Linked DNA regions of Homo sapiens: regions 1 and 2 are each linked to region 3. The links are contacts of gene promoters, found by promoter capture Hi-C in human tissues and cell types (Jung and others, 2019). All regions are on one chromosome and are shown on one strand. Each heading gives the region's core, a stretch centred on a gene start or on the middle of the fragment in contact. The rest is flanking DNA. Distances are from core to core; before and after follow the strand shown. Region 1 overlaps ZC2HC1C (zinc finger C2HC-type containing 1C). Region 2 overlaps ABCD4 (ATP binding cassette subfamily D member 4). Region 3 holds the start of YLPM1 (YLP motif containing 1).

Region 1 (2,700 bases), core at 103-2,602, 320 kb before region 3:
GGGAGGCCGAGGCGGGCGGATCACGAGGTCAGGAGATCGAGACCATCCTGGCTAACACAGTGAAATCCCGTCTCTACTAAAAATACAAAAAAATTAGCTGGGTGTTGTGGCAGGTGCCTGTAGTCCCAGCTACTCTGGAGGCTGAGGCAGGAGAATGGCGTGAACCCAGGAGGCGGAGTTTGCAGTGAGCTGAGATTGCGCCACGGTACTCCAGCCTGGGCGACAGAGTGAGACTCCATCTCAAAAATAAAAAAAAAAATACTGTCTTGGCAGGACAGGCGCGGTGGCTCACGCCTGTAATCCCAGCACTTTGGGAGGCCGAGGTGGGCAGGTCAGGAGTTCAAGACCATCCTGGCTAACACAGTGAAACCCCATCTCTACTAAAAATACAAAAAATCAGCCGGGCGTGGTGGTGGGCGCCTGTAGTCCCAGCTACTCGGGAGGCTGGGGCAGAAGAATGGCGTGAACCCGGGAGGCGGAGCTTGCAGTGGGCCAAGATCACTCCACTGCACTCCAGCCTGGGTGACAAGAGCGAGACTCCGTCTCAAAAAAAAAAAAAAAGAAATACTGTCTCGGCACATCTGCATACATTTTTAATGAAATGAGTTTCCACATGAGGAGTTTCCCCGTGAAATTTCTCCTATGGTGTAACCTTATGAACTTTATAATGTTTACTTGCACTAAACATTTCTTGGATAAAGTTGTATAAAATACAGACATTAAGAAGCAGCATGCATTTACTGTCATCGTCTGAGCTATCCAGGAAGAAATTCAGATTTTTTTAAAAAAAGGTTCTTATCTCTTCCCAGAGACCAGATCAAGATAAATTTAAAAGATGAAAGATATTTCTTTTTTTTTTTTCTTTTTTTTTTTTTGAGATGGATTCTTACTAGGTCACCAGGCTGGAGTGCAGTGGCGCGATCTCAGCTCACTGCAACCTCTGCCTCCTGGGTTCAAGCAATTCTCCTGCCTCAGCCTCCCGAGTAGTTGGGACTACAGGTGTGCGCCACCACGCCCAGCTAATTTTTGTATTTTTAGTAGAGACGGGGTTTCACCATGTTGGCCAGGATGGTCTCGATCTCTTGACTTTGTGATCCGCCCACCTCGGCCTCCCAAAGTGCTGGGATTACAGGCATGAGCCACCATGCTCGGCCTTGAAAGATATTTCTAATATAACCAAGGCCTAAACATGTAGAGATTAAAGGGAACACTTAAGGCATTGACTATTGTTTTATTTCTTTAGCAAAATGAGAGCAAACAACTGCTTCCTTTTTAGAAAGCACTCCCCACATATAACAACAATTTGTTCTCTCTGGAGGGCCCGGATCTATGACCTTACTAACATCCAGCGATCCCAAATCCAAGTGCCTGTGGTACCAGGCAGATAAGGTAAAGAAGTGAAGCAGGCCAAGTGAGACTGCAGTGGTCTGGTGCTACCATTCCCATCTGGAGGAGCATCTGATTCTAAACCCCACCCAATTTGTGCCATGCGGGTTGCTGGCCCAGTGTTTCCAGAACTTCCAGTTTTTCAAGAGATGTTCCATATCCCAGTTTTTAAATGTCAGATCATATTATGAATGCTAGGCCAGCGAAATAAAACATCTGTGGAGCAAAGCAATCCACATGTTGCCATTTTGTGACCTTGGCCACAGCTTACTCTTGCCATCTATTGCAATGTACTGGTTTACATTCCCACTTAAAGTGTACATTTCATTGAACTTGCCTAGGGAATGTACCTATTAGGTTAAATATCCATTATCTCTGTGTGAGGTTTCCTTAAGGGGCTAACCATAAAGCTTTATTATGTGATACCTCCTTTCCTTTGGAACAATTAAAAAGAGTGCAAAGAAATGTGTGCTCCTATTTAAATATATAGGATTTTTTCCCAGCCTGTGTCCTGCAGCTTCACCGCTAAAGCCTTAACTCACATTTCAAATTGGTCTGATCTGTTAGCCCAATTTTTTTTTCTTTTTTTTTTTTTTTTTTTTGAGATGGAGTCTCACTAGGTCACCAGGCTGGAGTGCAGTGGAAATGGAGCAAGAGTGAGTGGCCATTTGTTACTTAGTAAAATAGGATTTTGTTGTCTGTCTAGCCCTGTTGACTAGCTCAAATTGAGCAGTTTTTCTCCAGTATTTTAAACTAACAATTTGAGTAATACAGAACAGTAATCCTAAGATTTCTATCTGTTGTGCTAACTTCACTCCTATCTGAACTGATAATACTCTCGCAGACATTAACTTATCAGTTCTCTGATTTCACTAGTGTAGGACTCACTCATCTTCTTGTTTAATTTTAAATCTCCAGACCTCACTAATTGAAGGTCTAACTTGTGCTAGGCAATATTCTACACAGAGAAAATTAAAAAGATTTGATCCCTTTCCCTTCAAAGTTTACTCTCTGAAATAGAAGTTGACTATGCTATAATTGCCAAGGGCATGTGACACTGTGCAGTGTCCCAGCTTTGTTTTGTTTTGAGATGGGGTCTTGCTTTGTTGTCGAGGCCGCTCTTGAACTCCTGGCCTCAAGCAATCCTCCCACTTCAGCCTCCCAAAGTGCTGGAATTATAGGAATGAGCCACCATGACCAGCCTGTCTCAGCTTGCTTTGATGGTAGATTTTGCTGCCTCTAAACAGTCATTTAGCCAAACCGATTTGAAAGTAGAGTGCTACTAACAGCTAAAATGGAGGTTTCTTTCTTAAC
Region 2 (2,700 bases), core at 99-2,598, 480 kb after region 3:
TTAACTTACGGCTAGATGCTGTTGCCTGCATAGACTCTGGGCCTGAGGCTTGTTCATTTTGTAAAAAAGAGAGGTGAGGAGTTAGACGGACTGGCACTCAACTGAGATTTTTCTCCTTAATAAAATCAGAAAGATGGAGTGAGAATTGTATTTTCTCACTGTAAAATATAAGATTATTTAACGCTTTCTTGGTACCACTTAAAAATGACTTACTCTATCCTTACTGACTTCTTCAGCTCCTAAGCCTTTTTCACAGACGCTGCTGCCGCTGCCAAGTTATTTTGTTTATTTTTATTTTTTATTATTTATTTTTGAGACAGTGTCTCACACCTCACTCTGTAGCCCAGGCTGTAATCTAGTGGCACAATCACAGCTTATTGCAGCCTTGACTTCCCGGGCTCAAGTGATCCTCCCACCACAGCCTCTCAAGTAGCTGGGACCACAGGCAGGAGCTCCTATGCCCAGCATCCAGATTATTTTGGAGACCAATTCATTCCTATCTCAGGGTCTTTGCATTTGCTGCTTCCTCTGCCTCTAACTGGTTTCCAGTGCTGTTCTGTTCTTAACACTTAGCCTTCTCCCTCACAGAAACTGCCCAAGAAAGCTACTCCTAGGGGCACACTCTGCACCTCTATCCCTCCCTCATGTCAGAGATGGAGACTACTCTTAGATGAGTCGACATAAACATGCGTGGAGGAAAATCAGGTCTTGTGTCCTTCATAGTACATTATGGACAAAATGTTTGTTTTAAATGCATCGTACATCAGCCAGGCAAATAGTTTCCCAAACTTAAGACCCATTTTGGCCACCCAGGAATCTACAGTGACCCATGTGGATGAGACATAAAGATAGCCATAGGTTTCCCATCACTCTTCTGGAGGGTTCTGGGCTGCAGGACAGGCAGAAAAGCCATCTTTTGTCATCTCTATCCACGTTGGCTTAACATGTCAATGTGTGTCTAGTAAAGGCAGCTCAAACCCAACATGTCCCAAACTGAACAAGAAGAGCTTTCCCTGGCCGGGCATAGTGGCTCATGCCTGTAATCCCAGCACTTTGGGAGGCTGAGGTGGGTGGATTGCAAGGTCAGGAGATCGAAACCATCCTGGCCAACATGGTGAAACCCCGTCTCTACTAAAAATAAAAAAATTAGCTGGGTGTGGTGGCACATGCCTGTAATCCCAGCTACTCGGGAGGCTGAGGCTGGAGAATCGCTTGAACCCAGGAGGCGGGGGTTGCAGTGAGCCGAGATCGTGCCACTGCACTCCAGCCTGGTGCCAAAGCAAGACTCTGTCTCAAAAAAAAAGAAAGCTTTCCCACTCACGCCTGTAATCCCAGCACTTTGGGAGGCCGAGGTGGGCAGATCACAAGGTCAGGAGTTCAGGACCAGCCTGGCCAATATGGTAAAACCCCATCTCTACTAAAAATACAAAAGTTAGCCGGGTGTGGTGGCAGGCGCCTGTAGTCCCAGCTACTCGGGAGGCTGAGGCAGGAGAATCATTTGAACCCAGGAGGCGGAGGTTGCAGTGAGCAGAGATTGTGCCACGGCACTCCAGCCTGGGCGACAGAGCGAGACTCCGTCTCAAAAAAAAGCTTTCCCCAGAGCCTTTTCTAGCATCTCCTCTGATGGCAAGTGGCGTTACTGTCCATCTAGCACATCACCAGGTGCTGTTGCTCTGACCCCATAAGTAAATCTTCCAGCCATTCACTTCTCTCACCTGCTTGAATCCTAGCTAGAAGCAGCTCAGAGGGAGCCAGAAAAATGAGAAAAACCACAAGGAGAATCGAGGAACAGGAGCCTGGACGGCAGCTGGACTCTGAAAAAAAGAAGTGTCAGGAGGCAGCCTGAGCCTGCCACGTAGGGGAATGTTAGTAACCAGTGGCACGGCATTCTGTGGGCTATGGGGCAGTTCTTGAAAGTGAGGGCACTTTGGTTTGCCGCACACCAGCCATGTCTGAGGCACCATTCTCAGTTCCAGGGTTACAGTGGGGAGCAAGATGGACCTGGCACCTCTGCTGGAGCTCGCGTGTTCCATGTGGTACATGGTGGGTCTGAAGGCAGAAAGCAGCAGGAAAACACTGGGCTCAACTACAAGTGGAAAACATTTACAAAATCGTATGTCTGTTGTGATACTGTAGCAGGTCTTCTTGAGCTGCCTCTAGAACTCGAGCATTCTAGCATTACCCAAAACATCAAGTCAAATACAAAACCATGGAAGACTATTACAGAATGTTACCAGATGGTTCGTGAGTGTGTAGGGAGTCCTATTTCCTGCTGCAAAGCAAACCATCTTTTTTTTTTTTTTTGAGACGGAGTTCACTCTTGTTGTCCAAACTGGAGTGCAATGGCGCAATCTCGGCTCACTGCAACCTCTGCCTCCCAGGTTCAAGCAATTCTCCCGCCTCAGCCTCCTTAGTAGCTGGGATTACAGGCATGTGCCACCATGCCCAGCTAATTTTTTTTTTTTTTTTGAGACGGAGTTGCTCTGTCCCACAGGCTGTAGTGCACTGGCGCAATCTCAGCTCACTGCCAGCTCTGCCTCCCGGGTTCACGCCATTCTTCTGCCTCAGCCTCCCAAGTAGCTGGGACTACAGGCGTCCACCACCACACCTGGCTAATTTTCTGTATTTTTAGTAGAGATGGGGTTTCACCGTGTTAGCCAGGATGGTCTCGATCTCCTGACCTCATGATTTGCCTGCCTC
Region 3 (2,700 bases), core at 124-2,623:
GACCCTCTGCAACAAAATCTATTTGCAACAGCAACAAAATCTAAGAGGATGGTCAAAGAAACCAAGGAATGTATCTGAGAGGTAACTTTTGAGCCACCCCACCACTGTATGTAATCCATACACATCTACAAACGCTGTTTTTTTGGTAATTCACATCTAGCTAATTAAAAAGCTGAGCTGTCAGCCCTCTGACTCTTACGGAATCCTTTGGAGTGTTAGCTAGTCATTGTGTGTTGGAATTAGACTAACCACTGGTTAAAGCCCTGAGGCCTGCTCATTCAGGGCCCTCTAGGTGAAAGATGAGGTTCAGGCAGATGCTTTCTTACCTGTGGAGTCATCGTAGAGGGATCTGGCTCAGGGGCGGCTTGCTGCTGTTCAGTACTCTTGTTTTTGGCCCCACTCTCCAAAGGCTCTTGCTGGACAGTTGTCTTATTTCCAGGGGGGGCGGACGGTGGTGGTGGAGCTAGTAGTTGGGATTTAGAATGGCCCTGGGAGGGGCGGGAAGGAGATGCCTGAGAAGAGGGCAAGTAGGACTGGGAATGGCTCAAATAGGATTGCGAGGAAGAGGAGGAGGATGAGTAAGAAGGGGTGGGCGCCAGGTAGGATTGGGAAGGTGGGGACTGCGAAGGGGACGGCTGAGCAGGAGGCAGGTAGGGCTGAGATGAGGTCGGGGGGTAGTAAGAGGGTGGCGGCTGAGGTGGGGGCATGTAAGACTGAGATGGGGGCATATAGGACCCAGGCGGCACAGGGGGAGATTCAGGGGGGGATTCCAGCTCCATTGGAACCAAACCAGGAGGCCCGTCTCGTTGGTGGTGGAGCATCTGGTGTTTGTACTGCTGCTGCTTCTGATAGCTGAGGGCCGGCCCGGGTGGCGGGGGCATCGGTGGCGGTGGCGGCTGCCAGTCTCCGTAGCCGCCCCCCGGCATCACTGGCGGGGGCGGCAGAGGGGGCGGAGGAAGGTGGTGGGGCTGAAGCACGCACTGCATTTGCTTCTGGTGCATCTGCTGCAGCTGCTGGAGCTGCGCCAAGTGCTGTTCGCGGAAGCTCATGAAGCCCGAGGAGGAGGGGGCCGCGGGAGTCGTCGAGCTCGAGTACCCGGGCCCCGGCGAGGCCTCAGGAAGCGCCACTGGCGGCGGCGGTGGGACCGGTGGCGGCGGATAGTGGCTGCTCCCGCCATACCGGCCCCAATTCGGGTACATATCGAAAAAGAAGGCGCAGGGCTCGTCCTGGCGCCGTTACTCGTCGCAACCGACCTCCAGGAGCCGCGGCGGCGACGGCGACAGCCGGAACTCGCGGCGCCTACAGGCCCCGGAGCGTGTAAACGGAGCGCGCCAGTGCGCCGGCGCTCCCGAGCTGGGCCCGCGACCGGGAAGGCGGGGACGCGACTTGGGCGACTACGTCTGCGCAGTAACCACCGAGAGGAGAACAAAGGCGAGATAGAGCGGTCCTTTACTTGGCGACTCGTGGTTGCCATCTTCCTTTGGGTTCAGATAATGTAGGCTCCAGTAGAATGTTCTCATAGAACTGAAAAACCATAGAGTCTCACAGCCGAAAGAGGTGGTAGAGATCCTATCGCTCCACGGGTTCATTTTTGAATGAAAAAAAAAAAAGGTTCCATTCACAATAGCAACAATCGCAACAACAACAAAAAAACATAAAGCAACTAGGAAAAACTCTAACAAGAAAGATGTAGGACTTATATGTAGAAAGCTACAGAGTCATAAAGAAGCATATCCAAGTAGGATGAAATTAGACTTCAAATAATGGAGAGGCTTACCATGATCCTGGGTGAAAAGAGGAAAAATTGTAAAGATGTCAGTTTCTCCCAAATTAAATGAATAGACCTAACTCAATTCTCCCCAGAAATTCAACTGGGAACAAAGCTGTGAAGAATGGAAAGGTGTTTTCAAGGCAGAGTGTAAGATTACACCAATTCCTGCAGACATATAGTGAGTAACATCTGCAGGAATTGTAGAAGGGGAGAAATGGAATTTTTTAGACTGTCTCAACACATATAAATCGGTGTTGCAGAATCTCAGAGCAAAAGCAAAGAGAGCAAAAACCAGATACAAAGATGGTCTAAAGACAACCTGGAAGATAATCTTCCAAAAGCTCTCAACGTAATACCAGACATAAACTCTTACTTTAGCTTGAGTGAATCACTAAAAAGCAAAGCTAATACACTGAATTCTTTTGGGTGTGTGGGGGGGGGCGGGGGGAGGGAGAACTGTGAGAATATTGTGTCAGTGCATCACTTGAGTAACATGCAAATAATTGACCTTTCTTCCATCTTAGCAACCCAGATCTTCACCTCTCTCAGGAGGTGAATGTGAATGGAAAGTGGAGCAGCAAGGCATCCTTCAAAAGGAAGAGCTTCTGTTTTCAAATAGAAATTTAGTTATGTTTCTTTTAACTTTTTATTGAAGTATAACGAATATACAGAAAATTACATGTCAAAAGACAAAATTACAACAAATTTAGTTTAAAGATCTTAATTAACTTTTACCTGCTATTCTAGAATTGGGCAACGTCTCATTCTATAAAGCAGAAACAGTGTTCCAATGAGCAGAACAATCGGGATAATTTCATAGACAGAAAAGAAACGCAGAGGCAGGGCGCGGGGGCTCACTCCTGTAATCCCAACACTTTTGGGAGGCTGAGGCAGGCAGATCACCAGGTCAGGAGATCAAGACCAGCCTG

The links. Contacts are between HindIII fragments. The study calls those that stand out against the background at their distance.
Region 1: a contact is called between a fragment that was not itself captured here and the fragment with the promoter of YLPM1 in region 3, in 2 of the 25 tissues and cell types used here (dorsolateral prefrontal cortex and lymphoblastoid cells).
Region 2: a contact is called between a fragment that was not itself captured here and the fragment with the promoter of YLPM1 in region 3, in 1 of the 25 tissues and cell types used here (liver).

The regions. Positions count from the first base shown.
Region 1 is chr14:75,078,504-75,081,203 of GRCh38, reverse strand. ZC2HC1C (zinc finger C2HC-type containing 1C) reads right to left here. Exons shown (of 3, transcript NM_024643.4): 3 at 1,216-2,700. It overlaps NEK9 (NIMA related kinase 9), which reads left to right. Exons shown (of 22, transcript NM_033116.6): 22 at 1-1,851. Among named protein-coding and RNA genes, the nearest start is that of ZC2HC1C, 10 kb to the right of the region's middle. The HindIII fragment of the contact is 7,451 bases long and covers 1-2,700 here.
Region 2 is chr14:74,282,714-74,285,413 of GRCh38, reverse strand. ABCD4 (ATP binding cassette subfamily D member 4) reads left to right here. Exons shown (of 19, transcript NM_005050.4): 19 at 1-145. Among named protein-coding and RNA genes, the nearest start is that of ABCD4, 19 kb to the left of the region's middle. The HindIII fragment of the contact is 3,233 bases long and covers 1-2,700 here.
Region 3 is chr14:74,761,989-74,764,688 of GRCh38, reverse strand. It overlaps YLPM1 (YLP motif containing 1), which reads right to left and starts at 1,373. Exons shown (of 21, transcript NM_019589.3): 1 at 327-1,373. The coding sequence starts at 1,199. RefSeq lists an enhancer at 1,326-1,665. The HindIII fragment of the contact is 19,465 bases long and covers 1-2,700 here.